2 separate regions of the Homo sapiens genome follow, and region 2 is linked to region 1. Evidence: promoter capture Hi-C in human tissues and cell types (Jung and others, 2019). All regions are on one chromosome and are shown on one strand. The core of a region is centred on a gene start or on the middle of the fragment in contact, and the rest is flanking DNA. Distances in the headings are between cores, read along the strand shown. Region 1 holds the start of TMEM132E (transmembrane protein 132E). Region 2 overlaps LOC105371742 (a long non-coding RNA gene).

Evidence for each region. The method cuts DNA at HindIII sites, captures the fragments that hold promoters and counts their contacts. A contact is called where the count stands out against the background at its distance.
Region 2: a fragment that was not itself captured here is called in contact with the fragment with the promoter of TMEM132E in region 1 in 1 of the 25 tissues and cell types used here (H1 embryonic stem cells).

The regions. Positions count from the first base shown.
Region 1 is chr17:34,576,591-34,583,961 of GRCh38, reverse strand. TMEM132E (transmembrane protein 132E) reads right to left here and starts at 4,380. Exons shown (of 9, transcript NM_001304438.2): 1 at 2,819-4,380. The coding sequence starts at 2,885. It overlaps TMEM132E-DT (TMEM132E divergent transcript), which reads left to right and starts at 4,593. Exons shown (of 2, transcript NR_160787.1): 1 at 4,593-5,091; 2 at 6,342-7,371. RefSeq lists enhancers at 4,356-4,891, 4,892-5,428. The HindIII fragment of the contact is 28,166 bases long and covers 1-7,371 here.
Region 2 is chr17:34,807,421-34,814,183 of GRCh38, reverse strand. The region is part of intron 3 of LOC105371742 (a long non-coding RNA gene); the gene reads left to right. Among named protein-coding and RNA genes, the nearest start is that of CCT6B, 150 kb to the left of the region's middle. The HindIII fragment of the contact is 4,882 bases long and covers 1-3,930 here.

The sequences.
Region 1 (7,371 bases), core at 3,131-5,630:
CACAGATGTTCCCTGGAAGAGGGCTGGAGACTGGGAACAGTGTAGAGGTGCCCAAACACACCACTCTGCCTATCTCATGGGCTGAACTGGGCCCTGAAAAGGTAGTAAGGCTCCATTCACACATGGTCTCTGTCCAGGAGTCCTGGCAGAAACTGGAAAGGGGAAAGAAAGGCCAGAGACCACGCTGCCTGTGGAAGATGGGGAATGTGAGGGAGGCAGCCCAAGGTCACCCTGCCCGGTGGCGCCAGAGTCAGACTGAAACCCAGGCTACTTGGCTCCCAGTCTGGCTGTGTGGTCAGAACCCTGTGACCTCAATTGCCTGCCAGGCACAGAAAACTGCAACTGTCCCTCTATCTCCCAGCATTTTAGAAAAGCCCCGGAACCCCAACCAAGAGTCAGTTTAAAGGGAGACTAAGTCCCCGGACCCTATTCTTAACAGAGGGAAGGGGTGGCTACGTGGGTGTCAGGCAGCCCTGGAGGAGGAGGGCAGCCCAGGCAAGATGGGGTTTTATTGTGGGGGGATTTCTATCATACTGGCCTTACCCATCTGGGGGATCCCCCAAGTTTTAAGTATCTGCTGGCACCCTTCTCTGAGGCAGGGGAGACTGAGACATGCGATGGAGAAGAGAGTTCAGGACTCAGGGAAGGAGGTTGGAAAGGAAGCCAGATAGTCAGGAGGGGAAATGTCCGCTCAGTAGGGCGATTCAGACCCTACCTCCTCAAATACCTTCTTTCTGCTCAGGCAGCCAAGCCCTCTGCCCTAGGTGTGCTGTCACTGTGTTAGGCACTGGCTGTGTGGAGAGACAGGGAATAAGCCCATGGCTCTGCCTCCACCAATCCAGGACTACTGGGGCACAGAGAGGGCACTGGTGCCTAAGGAAAAAAGGAGGCCAAGGCCAAGACCAAGGGAAGGCAGCCAGGACGCTAAGGCCCAGCTGGAACTGCGTCTTAGGAACAGGCAGGATTCTGGCAGGTGAGGAAGGGAAAGGGATCTTTAATTCCAGGCTCAGGGATCGGGAAGGTGGGCAGAGGGACCCTAATGACAGAGTTTGAGCTGCCCATCATCAGCGTTTGAGGTGACGCCATGGTTGGGCTTTGGGAAGGGAACTCCGACAGCAAGATGTAAGAAGAGGGGAAGAACCCACCTAGACTCAGGCCTGGGTTTCTGGGCTTCCTCCTACTGGGCAGGGAAACTCCCTGCCGGCCAGTGCTAGGTCACAAGTGCAGCCCATGCAGCTCCAGTGCGCAGACAGGCAGCCCACCTCCCTCTCCCCCACCTTCATTCTCAGTGTTGCACACAGAGCCTAGAGATTTCTGGTTCCCCGCTATGCTCCCACTTCGCCCCACCTCACCCTCGCCCCCCTGCTGGCTCGCTGCTCTGCCTATTCCTCCCATAGAGAACTGAGGTTAGCTGTCTCTGGTGAACTGAACGCAAAACAACCCCCCCTGGTGTTACCTCAGCCGGGAATAACCAAGCCACCCATAGAGGGAGGTCTGCCTGCTCCCCGCCCCCCTCCTAGCCCCAGGACCCTACGATTCCGAGAGCCCCTCTTTTTCTTATTCTCTCAACCTTGAGAATGCGCTTTGGTCAGGGTGAAAGAGGCCGCTGGTTAGAGACCTTGGGCACACTCCTGGCGAGCTTGAGCAGGCTCTTAGGGACTGGGCAGATCTGGGCAAGAGCTGAGCCCGGCACACCGAGGGCGCTCCACCAATGCGGAGAGCCCACTGCCCCCTCCATCTAAGCGCCCTCCATTCTGCCTGAGGCTCACCCCTCAGCGTGGAGCATCGAAACACCCCCGCCCCCCAACCCCGCCACGCCTTGCTGGTTAAGAAAATGTATCCCAGGTCGGCTGGTTTCACGTTAGGAGGGAGCAGAGGGCCCCGCTTCTCCACTCTCCTTTCGGAGCTCTCTCCCTCCCACCTCGGTCTGCTCCCCTCGCCTCCTGGAGCGTCTCCAGCTTGCGGAAGGCCCGCTGCAGCCTCCTTCCCTCTGGTCTGATTTCCCATTCTTGGGGGCTGTTCAAAAACCCGCTGCCCCCCACCCGTATGCCCGCTGTCCCACCGCCAAAGCGCGCCAACCTCAATCCCTCCTTCTCCCACCCCCTTTACCGCGGAGCCCGGGGCGAGCCTGGGGAGCAGACGCAACAGATTGCAGAATGCGAGAGCGCGGAGCCCGCTCCCTCCGCGCGCGGCCCGCGGCCCACCGCCCCGGCCTGTGCGGGTGCCCAGACCCCCGCCCTCCGGGCTCGCCTAAGCCGGCCATTTAGATGCAGCTCACAGGACCGCGGGCGTGCGAGCCGCGGCGGCTCCCCGGCCCGGAGTCAGTCCACTTCCCTTCCCGAGGACCGCCGCAGGAAGCGAGGCGACGGGCGGCGCGGCCCCGCACCGGCCTGCGCGCCCGGGGCGAGGAAAGACGCGATCCCGGCGGATCCCAACAGCCCCCAGCCCGGCCGGCTGCAGGGAGAGACGGGGGCGGGGGGCGGCCTGGACGCGATCCGGAGGATCCCTCGGATCCCTCTAGATTTCCGTGGGCGGACACGACCCCAGACCTTCGGGTTCGAACCCTTCTTTATAACCAGGAGAGGACTGGAGCGACACCCTCCCCCCACCCTTTTCTGGCGCCGGGCTCGGTCCCCTCAGCTGAGCTCGCCGGAGGGCTCGGGGGCTGGCGGTAACTCGAGCTGCAGCCAGAGACGCCAAACCCGGAGTGGCGGCTGCGAGTCCAGGGGGTGTGGGTGCTCCTCTCCCCAGTCTTCCCCGTACCCCCTCCAGTGGCGCCTGCCGCATCCTCACCCCCAGTCCGCGCCGCGACACTTACCGTGGGCGAGTAGCGCTGAGAGGCAGAGCAGGGCGGCGCCGCCGCGGCCCGACATCCCCGGGGCCATGGCCGAGGCGGGGGCGGGAGGGGTCCGAGAGAGCAACAGTCGACGACGACTTGGCCCCAGGCTGGGCTTGGTCACATCCAACTCAGGGCTGCCGTGGCGCCCGGCTGTCTCAGATGCAGCTCCGGGACCAGAGAGTGCAATTCGGGGACACTTTGCGGGGAGGGGGCGTCCCAGGCGCTGGCGGCTACACCCTCGGAGCCGGTGGGGGCGCAGCTCCGGGCGGGAGGAGCCTCCACCTCCCCCAGCTGGTGCCCCCTGCAGGATCTGCGAGGCGCGGGGGGAGCTGCACGTGCAGTCCGGAGCCCGGTGGCCGCGGGCGTCCCGGGGGCTACCTAGAGCCCAGTGCTGAATCTCCCGGCCTCACGGCCCAGCTCGAATCCGAACTCACTCGAGGGTGCCGACTTCCAACGCAATCCCCAGTTTCCTCGGTTTCGGTAGTAACCGCACATGGATAGCGCCGCTTTCTTCCTCCAAGCCCCTGCAGCAGCCCAGCATAAAAATCCCAGGTCAGGTGCAAATGAATGCTGTCTTTCTCAAAGAAAGAGAAAATCCAGACAACTTTAATCCATCTGGAGAAGGAAAAGTTTCCGTGCGGTGCTGAAACTGGCGACGCCGGTCGCCACCACCCTAGGCGACGCCCAGACCGGATGCCCGAGGCGGGCGGCCAGATGTTTGTCCCCTCGCAAGGCTCGCTCCTCCGCTCCAGCGCGCTTTCTCCAGTCTGGATCAGGGCCCAGGCTCCACACAGGCCGGCTCAGCGCCTCCTGCCCAGGCAGCCGCTCGGCGGCTGGGGCAAGGGTGGCGCGGCCAGAACGGGCTGCCCCATGTAGATGGGGCTTGGAGAAGCGAGGGAGCGAGAAAGCCGGCTAATGCGCCCTGCCCCGAGCCCTTCCTGCCCAGGACGTCGACTCCAGCTTGATGACCATAAACGCTGTAAGATGCAGAGGGGCTCCTGCAGCTCACGGCAGCTCCGGGCCACCCCGCTAAGGTCTCGCTGTCTCGGCAGAGAGGCGCGCTGCCCCGCCTCGCTCCTCGCCTTCCCTGGGGGAACCTGCACAAACCTTGAACTTTTCTGGGGTTCAGAGTCTCCGACGCCTCCTCCCCGCCGCCCCCACCCTGTCCCCGGACGCCCGTTCGCCCGCTGTCTCGATGCTGCCGGGCATCGGCTCCCGCTCCCTCCGAGTCAGTTTGGGCGAGCGGATCGCCGCGCCAGTCCGGGCTGCGGGCGGTGAGACGCGGGCGCGGCGCCAGGGGCCAGGGCAGCCGGCACCTGCGCAGCTTGCGGCCAGGGAAGCGGCAGCTGGTGCCTACGGGGCCGAGAGGAGAGGAGGTGCTGGCAGGGGAGCCGGCTCCCCATGGACGTGTGTGGGGGAAGAAGAAGAATCGAGGAGCAAAAAGGAAGAGGAGGTGGGGGAAGCCACAGTTGCACGAAGCAGCCGCCGCCGCCGTCGCCGCCTCCTCGGCGCTCGCGCCGGCTGCTCCGCCGTAAATGACTCGAGAGAGACACACACACTCGCGCTCGCCCGCCCTCCTCCTCCGTCCGGGATTCAGCGCCCACCCGGGCAGAAGCGGGCGCCGAGCTTGGCGCGCTCACTCCCACCCCTCCCAGATTCCCCGTGGTCACGTGGCCCCCGAGCGCGCGGCCCACAGCTCGCGCGCCACGGAGACTCCCCGACTCCTAGCTCCCCCTCCTCTGTCCACGTGTCCATTCCGCATTCCTAGCCTGGCGGCGCGCGCGGCTCCTTAATGAGACTCGGGCCAAGGGCCGACCTCGCGATTCCGCTCGCCCCTATTTTATGTTTGATTTTTCCTTCCCAACGCCGGCTAGCGCTGGGACCCGAATGGGGCCGGCCAGCTGCGGCGGGAGGAGCCTCCACCTCCCTCAGCTGCGTTTCTCCAGGGTAGACGCCACCGCAGTCACTGATGTCCCTTTTCAAAGGATGCACGCTCCCCACCGGGCGCCGGAGGTGTTTTGCAGCCGCTCTTCCAGAGGCGCGGGTAGGGGGCACCCTACCCCCACCCCCAGAGTTCGCTGGGCACTGGCTGGGAATCAGCCTCGCTGCTGTGCCCAGCTCCTCTCGGGCCGCGGGGGCTCTGGGGCTCAGCTTCGTGCGGGATGGGTCCGGGGCGCAGCTGTGGGAAACCTATTTATTCTGTTGCTGGGGAAGGAAGACGGAGAAGAGGAGGGGACAGTGCTTTCCTACAGGTTGTTTAGCAAGCCTTTAAAGAGGCATGAGGTGGGGGTGGGGAACTGCCCCTCTTGCATACTCACCCAGGCACCTGCTGACTAGCGGGAGGGGTGGCTGGAGTGATATCTGTTCCCACCATCAGGCCCTTTCCATTAGAGTGCAACCTAGATCAGACCCGGCAAGTCAACCTTCACACCTCATCTGTCAACCAGGCATCGGATCCATGGCAATGATTTTATAGCTTCGTTGGGTATCAACTCCAATCCCCAGAGGGTGAATTTCAATCCTACCCTGCTCTGGAGGGACAGGGTCTTCAATCCCATGGACATATCCCTACTGGGGAGGATATGGATCTTGAGGGTCACCCTTCCATACCTCTGCACTCAACTGGAGTGAGAGTGTGGGGCCAGGTCAGAGCAAAGCCAGCTGGGGCACTCAAACCGTGCCCTCCATCTGCCTGACTCCATGCTAGCCCTCTTGACCCTGAGAGTTTCCTTTCATCTAGGACGGTGACATTTTGTTTTTGGAAAATGTGCTTGCATTTTTCATGGAAGGCTTCCTCCTCCCTGGCTGCTGGCTGTTGCTGCCTCGCTTGGTACTGGGGCCTGTAGAGGGCTGCTCTGGCCCTTCCCCCACCCCTACATCTGTCTGGAGCTGGGGGGAGGTGCAGCCTGAGGAGAGCTGGCCAGCTCTTGGAGGCCCTGGGGATAGAAGGTGCTGGAGTCGTCAAAGAAGATTATTCTCATTAGGCCCCTAATGCCTGATGGCAATTAATGTCACCCAAGGGCTTATTCACCAACCCCCTGAGAAGCAAGCTAGCAATCAGGCTCTGTGTGGGGGAGAAAGGGGGAAAGATCCACCTCCTGAGGCAGAGGAGGGCTTCAGGAAGAGGAGGAAGGAAGCAGGGAGGGCCCTCCATCCCTGCCCAGCACCCCATCAGAAGGGTCATGGAGCCTGAGCATGGCCAGAAGGAAGAGACAAGGTGCTTTTCTGAGCCCAAGACACACCTTACCCTGTGTTGTGGATCAAATTTCCTTTCTCCTCAAATGTTCCCAGTTGACGCTAGGGTCTGAGGGGCAGCAATGTTGCATCTCTCCCAGCCATCTGTGGAAATAGCACAGTGTTCTGGTCAGGGTGGGCAGGGACTCAGACATAGAATTCTTCTCTCTGCAACCCCATCTCACCCCACCCCATAGCTCTTATGTGACCTTCCTTTGTGATTCAGTTTCTCCTCCTCCCTCCCTGTCTCTGTCCCTCCCTTTCACAGTAGTATGGTGCATATCTCCAACATCACAGGCATTGTAGGTACAACAGTGAGCAGGACAAAACCAGCTCTTGTCCTCATGGAACTAACTTTCTAGAGGGGAAGGCAGACACTAAGCTTCTAATTGCTTGCAATTGTGGTGTGATTTGGCATCATGCACTTCGCTCATCTTATGGAGAAGACTGAGGCCTGTGGTTGGAAAGGGCGAGGGAGCAGCCTGCTATCTTTAGAGAACACAGTTTCAGCCTCAAGTTCTTCCTGTACCTCCGATATGGATCTACCCTTCCTGGATTGAAGCCTTGTGCCAAGTCCATGGGCCTGATGATCCTCTGACTCTCCAAATGCCAGATTTTCCTCCTCCTTGCCTCAGGGAAGTGAAGGGCAGCCGATAGCCCACCTGGAGAATAAAATATGACTACAACCTGCAGTGCTCCATGGACCTGTCATTCTCAGCAGTGTAAATCCTACTGCTCAGAGAGAAGGCAGTTGGCACAAGGTAGACAGCCAGTTGTTTCAGCTATTCCAATCCTGCATGTCATTTACCTGGAAAGGGGTTCTATACATTCCCTCTGCCTTTCCTACTACCCCAGCAGACTGCCCTCGGTCTCACCTGTTAGTCCTAGTTACGGATTCCCAAACAGCAATGCCACTGGAGCTTAGATAAGGGGAAGTCAGAGGAGCCACCCCAACTGGAGCCCGGGCTGGAGAGAGGACCTGGCATGTGTGTACTCTTCTATCCCAGATGAGCACCTTATCAACTTAAGGTGGTAGTGTCTCTGCTGTTTCCATTCTGTTTGTGTCTTCTGGACAGAGGATTGGCAATGGTTGGAGGTTATCTCAGTCACCAGTTCCCAGGTGATGCCTGGAAGAACCCTGTCCTCCTGCCAAGAAGCCAGGCAGCAAGTGGGGTTCTGTCCCAGGCCCCGGTGCCCTACATGGATGCTTATCAAGGACCCATACATAAACTGGCACCCACTTCCTCCCATGCCTGACCTGCCCTCATGATAGGCCAGGTGACATCTGTCCTTCAGCA
Region 2 (6,763 bases), core at 240-2,739, 230 kb before region 1:
GGAACAGTCATCATCTTCAGGGGATGCCATGGGGAGAGATTGGGCTTCTTCTGTGTGATCCTGGAGTTGGATCTAGGGCTCTGGGTGAATGTTGCAGGAAGGAAGTGCTTCTAACAATCAGAGCTCCACAGGGTGTCTTCCATGGTAGTGAATGCCCCATCAGTGTAGGAGTGTGGGCAGATGTTGTGTGCTCTCCTGGGGAAAATGTTGTAGAAGAGATTCTAGCTGCAGGTGGGGAGACACTGGGTTTGAAGATATTTATGAAGGTGGCTTCTAAGTCAGAGCTGCTAGGATTCTATAAAAATCAAGGAGTTTTACTTGCCCAGGGTTTAAAGCAATGTGTGTACACCCACGCACACTCCTACTCACACATGTACAAAGAGACATTCATGTGTACAAACCTTCAGACACGTGTGTACATGCACATGTTTACCTACATGCTACAGAGCATGTTTTCATATATAAGGGCACACACACACAAGCACAAATACAGGCATCAACAAACATGCACATACCTGCCAGTTCACACAGCACACATCTGCCTCAGCCTCTTTTCTCTGGCTGTTTATTTTCCCCCACTCCAGAGCCAGGGCCTCCCCGTGCAGCTTCCAGGCTGGTCTCTGGAGTCAGAGCCTTGCTTAATCTCCATTAGCTCTCTTATTTCCTGCACCAAATTAAAAGTGTGACCAAAAGTTAATTATTCTAATTCAATTTAGCCCTAATGTTCTGTACGTGGCGATGGGGAGGCCTGCGTGGAGGTGAAGCTGGCATAGGCAGGGGGAGGAAGCGTCAGAATTTAATATGTCTTAATGACTCTTACAGGAAAATGCCCTGAAGCCTTCTTCTCTGTGGATTTTCCCTGCCACTTCCCCAGGCCCAGCCCCCAGATTTTCTGGAAACCTCGGGGTGCTTTTGGGAGCTTAGCTTTGGGAAATATTTGAGGAGATAGCAGGCCTCTCTCTGGAGGCCAGGACAGAGGTGAAAAGGTTTGTGTGTGTGCGTTCGTGTGTGTTCGTGCATGTGCACAGGTGCCTATGTTGATAGAACACAGACCAGACTGTCATGTCAGAAGGCCTCCAGAGAGATGAGCCAAGGCCTCTCTTGCTGAGCCTTCATCCTTGGATAATGCTGAGAGAACTGAAGATCACTGCTTTTGCCGGACATGGGAACAGCCAGCCCTCCTCTCCTCCACCACAAATTATTTTTCAGATCAATCCCCTCCCTCTGCCTCTCTGCTACTTAGACTTCTCCGTGTATTCTTGCTCAGGAATGTAGGATCTGGGGACTCAAATCCAGCTTTCCCCAGTAGCCATGTCTTCCCTAAACACTAAGCCTGGCCCCCACATTTGAACATGGGGCTCTTAACGGGTGCTGAGGCCAGGGGCAGCTAGGGCAGATTCTGAAAAAAAGTTAGTCCTGTCTCTACAAAAGATACAAAAAAATAAGCTGGACATCATAATGTGTGCCTGTAGTCCCAGCTTCTTGGGAGGCTGAGGTGGCAGGATGGCTTGAGCCCGGGAAGCAGAAGTTGCAATGAGCCAAGATGGTGCCACCACACTCCAGCCTGGGAGACAGAGCCAGATCCTGTCTCAAGAAAAGAAAAAAAAAAAAAAAAAAAAGAAGGAAAGGAAAAGAAAAGAAAAGAAAAAGAGTTAGCATTCTTGTCCTGAGGGTTTTTGGTCTCCTGAGAGTGTCGAGCCCAGGCCTAGGGAGATCTTAGACTGATGGAGGAGGCAGCATCCTAGTTGGGGATGACAGATCATAAGATCACAGAATCTAAGGTCTTGAGAATGTTTTTGCGTTATGTCACTGATGTCAAGCTGCTAGCTGATGCTCATGTGGCTTCTGCAACATTCTCACCTGTTTGCACAGCCAGGAGTAGAAGCTTGCTGTCTCTTAAGGTCACCTGTTGTGCCTCTGTTAACATTACCTTCCTGTGTGTGGAGCTGTAATCTGCATCCCTGGGAATTTCCTGCCACTGGTCCTAGAGCTGCTGTCTCATGTCACTTGGGTCAACTCTGCTCTAAGATGATGGATAAAGTATTTAAGGACAGTGTACAATGTTCTCTGCTGAACCTCCTCCTCTACAGGGCAACAGTTCCTCAGCTGTTTGTCATGTGGTGAGGTTGTGAGCTAACCTGTATTAGTTGGGATAAGCCAACTGCTGTAAGAAAGACCCTGTCTGCAAATCTCAGTGGTTTAATTACCAGTAGTTGATGTGTCACTCACGTATTTGTCCAGTGCAGGTATTCAGTGGGCAACCTTCTGTGCAGTAATCCCACATCCCTGTTTCCTTCCATCTTGGAGCTCTTTCCTCTCCATTTAGACAGTGCATGGGGAAGAGAGAACCTGAAGGCTGCCTGGGAGGTTTTTATGGGTTGTGTCTGGAAGGGACGCACGTCATACTTGCCCACATTCCTTTGGCCAGCGCTCAGTCACATGGCTGCCCTACCTGCAAGAGAGGCTGCAAATAGAGTCTGGTGGTGTGCCCAAGAGGAAATGGGACACGGTTTGGGGAATAGCCAGTCTACTGTTCCATCCTTAGGTCATCCTTCTCCAAAATGCTGCAGCTTGTTCATATCCCATTTAAGGGAGATGCTCAGACATTTGAAAAAATAGGGGGCTAGGTATGGCCTGATCAGGTACTAATAGGAGCTCACCATTTCCTGAGCATATAGTATGTTCTAAGGAGCGATGTGCTGGGGCCGGCTCACACCAGCTCCTGAAAGCCAATTTGGCACATCTCTTCCCTGCTCCCATTTCAGGGACATCATATTTGTATCTTGAAACAAGTCTTGAGGGGAGTGTTGAAATCAAGGAAATGGACACATGCTGCAAGCCAGGGCTCCTCCCCAGCCCCTCAAGCTTGTGTCAGCACCCAACCCCCTGGCTTTACCTGTTGTTTTGCAGGAGCCTCACAAGACTCTTATGAAGCAGGCTCTGCCATTTCTATTTTATGGTTTAAAAAACTAAGGTCACAGGATTTGCCCAGCCAGTGCAGAAAGGGGCCAGACCCTGCTTCCCTGTTCTGGATGCATCCATCTCTTAGTTATTTCCTTCGGATGGCTGTCAGGATGGGAAGAGCTGAGCCCCGACCTCAGCTGCTGGTCTTATGCAGGGTGCCATGTCTCCTCCTCTGCATTGTCACCTCCTTGTGGCCAGGACCAGGTCTCAGTCTTTGTTCAGGGAAGTATCCAGCACATCAGCACACAGTAGGAGTTAAGCAAATACCTGTTTAACCAAATCTAGTAGGCCTTGTTCTGGGGAAGCCTCCAGCCGGTGAGGGAGAATAGACCTTTTCCCGACAGAACTCCCAATCTGATGGGGGAGGAAGTGCCCTGTTGTGTGGGTGCTCCAGCCCGAAAAAGGGATAAAGGCCTCCACTCACAGAAGCCCCAATCTGAAGACATGAGGAGTCTTGGCCTGGGTCCTACGGGGGCTTGCAGTTATTTGCAGAGCCATCGTTCTTTTCCATCAGGAACTCCTAATCAAACGGAGAAGGATTTAGATCCAACCTCCCTCATCAGAGTGTATTGGTGGCTATGGATGAAGTTTGGCTGGGAATCAGGGGAGAGAGGAGGATTAATCTGTAGGGAGTGTGGGTGGTATCCTCTACCCCTATGGCCAAGAGCTACTCGAGTCTATATGCCCCAGCACGATGTCTTCCCTTCCAAGAGCTCAGGGACGTGAGTGCAGGTCAAGGGAAGTGAATGCTCCACAAAGAAAGGCCTGATGCCTCTCTTCTGTCCCCTGCAGTTTGAGCCTTCATTCTTACCTTCTCATGAGAACATGCCGTAGATACAGGGCTGGGCAGTGGTTAGGAACAGGGGCTGAGTGCTGGGCCAAAGAGAGGGGATGTGTCTCCAGATGCAGCCCACTGGCCTCCCTGTGTTCCTGCATAGGAAGTGCTGGGGTCTAATTATTAGGAGCACTGATCTGTAGCGTGCATTAGGAGGAAACAAAGGGAAGTTATATTTTGTTCTTAATCCAATTAGGGAAAAATACCAGGTATGGTAGGTTTGTCTGTTACTTACTGGCTCAGCCAGCCATTCACCTGGGCATTCTGGCTTACTGCCTCCAGAAAGGCACAAGGAGTAAGTTAGCAGCCTGAGTGGCTGAAGGGTGAACCAGGAGGAAGGATGAGTGTGCATGGTAAGGGCAGGGGGTCATCTCCAGGATGAATGGGAAGTTGCCTGGACTTCACCTTTAGGCGACCCCAACACTGACCTTCTCACTAGACAGTAGGCATCTAGATACTAACCAACAGGATAGAGTTTGGTATAGGAAACTTCAGGGTTTCTCTATACCCTTGAAGGTTGGGCTGGATTTATATTTTCTGATAATCCTTTCTCCTCTTCCACTTCCTCTTCTCTCTCTCTTTTCTTTTCTTTCTCTTCTTCATACTTTAGGATTTATGAGGATGGTGAAGAGTGGAGAGGGGTTCCCAGCAAAGGATTTAGCATGAGTAAAATCAAGGAGGGATAGAAGAACCATCCTGAGCTAGAGGAGGTTTGAGAAGGAGAATACTGAGAGGTGAGACTGGACCAAATGTAAATGACCTTGAATGTCAGCCTGAGAGGTCTTTGAAGTCAGGGGCTGTGACTGATTCATTGTTGCATCTCCCGTACCTACCACCATCTAGCACATAGTAAGTGTTCAGTGAATATTTGCTGAGAAAATGAATGACACTATCCTGCAGACAGCGTGGAGCCTGAACCTCACCCAACAGAGGGGGTTGAGGGGGAGGGTGGCATGATCCAGACACTTACTAAGTACAGGTACACCCCAGGGCACAGGTTCTACAATGGAAAAGGCACTGGTATGGGGTTATAGCCCTGGAGAAGCTCGCTGTCTGTTTTAGTGTGTTCTCACACTGTTATAAATAAATACCTGAGACTGGGTAATTTATAAAGAAAAGAGGTTTAATTGGCTCATGGTTCTGCAGGCCCTACAGGAAGCGTTGTGGCTTCTGCTTCTGGAAAGGCCTTAGGAAGCTTCCAATCATGGCAGAAGGCAAAGAGGAAGCAAGGCATCCAACATGGCTGGAGCAGGTTGTTAAAAAGTGCTATACATGGCTGGGCGCGGTGGCTCACGCCTGTAATCCCAGCACTTTGGGAGGCCGAGGCGGGCAGATCACAAGGTCAGGAGATCGAGACCATCCTGGCTAACATGGTGAAACCCCATCTCTATTAAAAATACAAAAAAAAAATTAGCCGGGCGTGGTGGCGCATGCCTGTAGTCCCAGCTACTTGGGAGGCTGAGGCAGGAGAATGGCATGAACCTGGGAGGCAGAGCTTGCAGTGAGCAGAGATTGTGCCACGGCATTCCAGTCTGGACAACAGAGTGAGACTCTGTCTCAAAAAAAAAAAAAAAAAAAGCTATACATTTTTTTTTAAATTTTTTGAAATGAAGTTTTGCTCTCGTTGCTCAAGCTGGAGTGTAATGACATGATCTCGGCTCACTGCAACCTCCACCTCCTGGGTTCAAGCTATTCTCCTGCCTCAGCCTCCCTAGTAGCTGGGATTACAGGTGCGCGCCACCACGCTCGGCTAATTTTTGTATTTTTAGCAGAGACAGGGTTTTACCATGTAGGCCAGGCTGATCTTGAACTCCTGACCTCAGATAATCCGCCCTCCTTGGCCTCCCAAAGTGCTGGGATTATAGGCATGAGCCACTGTGCCTGGCCAAAATTACTATACACTTCTAAACAACCAGATCTCATGAGAACGCACTACTGCGACAACAGGACCAAGAAGGATGGTGCTAAACAAGTCATAAGAAACTGCCCCCATGATCCAATCTCTTCCCACCAGCCCCCCCTCCAACATTGGGAACTGAACATGAGATTTGTGTGGGGACACAGATCCAAACCATACTGCTGTCCAATTAGAAGGATAATCCATTCATGCATGAAGGATCGTAAGGCAACGTGTGTGAGAAATAGCACAGACTTGCTGAGGAGCTTCAAAGTAAGAAACACATAGTTGTGGGGATAATTAGGGAAAGGTTCTTGGAGAAAACTGGGCTTTGATTTGAATTGGTGGAGGGGAGGTGGGAGGGCATTTCCAGTAGGAGGAACAGTAGGAGCAAAGGCAGGGGGCAATAGGTGTTTGTTGGGAGGGGGCAGTGAAGAGGCTGCTCCATTTTAATCAGCTCCTAGAACTGGAAAGACTGTTTTTGGTTTGTTTATTTGTTTTTTTCAGATCAGCAAACTGAGGCTCAGAAAGTGGAAATAGGAAGCACAGCAAATGCTAAGAGGATCAGAACCTTATGGATCCCAATCCAGTGCTCTTTCCTCTACACCACACCACTGGCTACCCTTTCAGACAGAGCACAGAGCAGACATTTAACCAACTTAGTCACAATATGTCAAGGGAGGAGAAAGAAGCCCACATTGTGTGCCCTTTCTAGGCATTTGCATTATTCTAAATGTCTTGCACCTTTAATATGTTTCCATTTGCAGACACTAGAAAAGTCCTGGGCACCCTGTGGGGTGATGAGGGAAGATGACGTGCATGTGTGTGTGTGTGTGTGTGTGTGTGATGGAGACATGGCTTGGGTGGGTGCAGAGTTCCAACTCAGTTTTCCCTATGGGAAGCCTGGGTGCCTATCTCCTTGGCTTTTACCTTGACCAGGGAGGGTAAGCAGTTTCTGTTCAGGGCAGACTCACTGGATCTCACTTTGGGATTTGGGGACTTGGACTGGAGTTCTTTATTTGAACTGTTACTCTTTTCTTCTTTTGTGGTCAAAATCCTCCCCATAA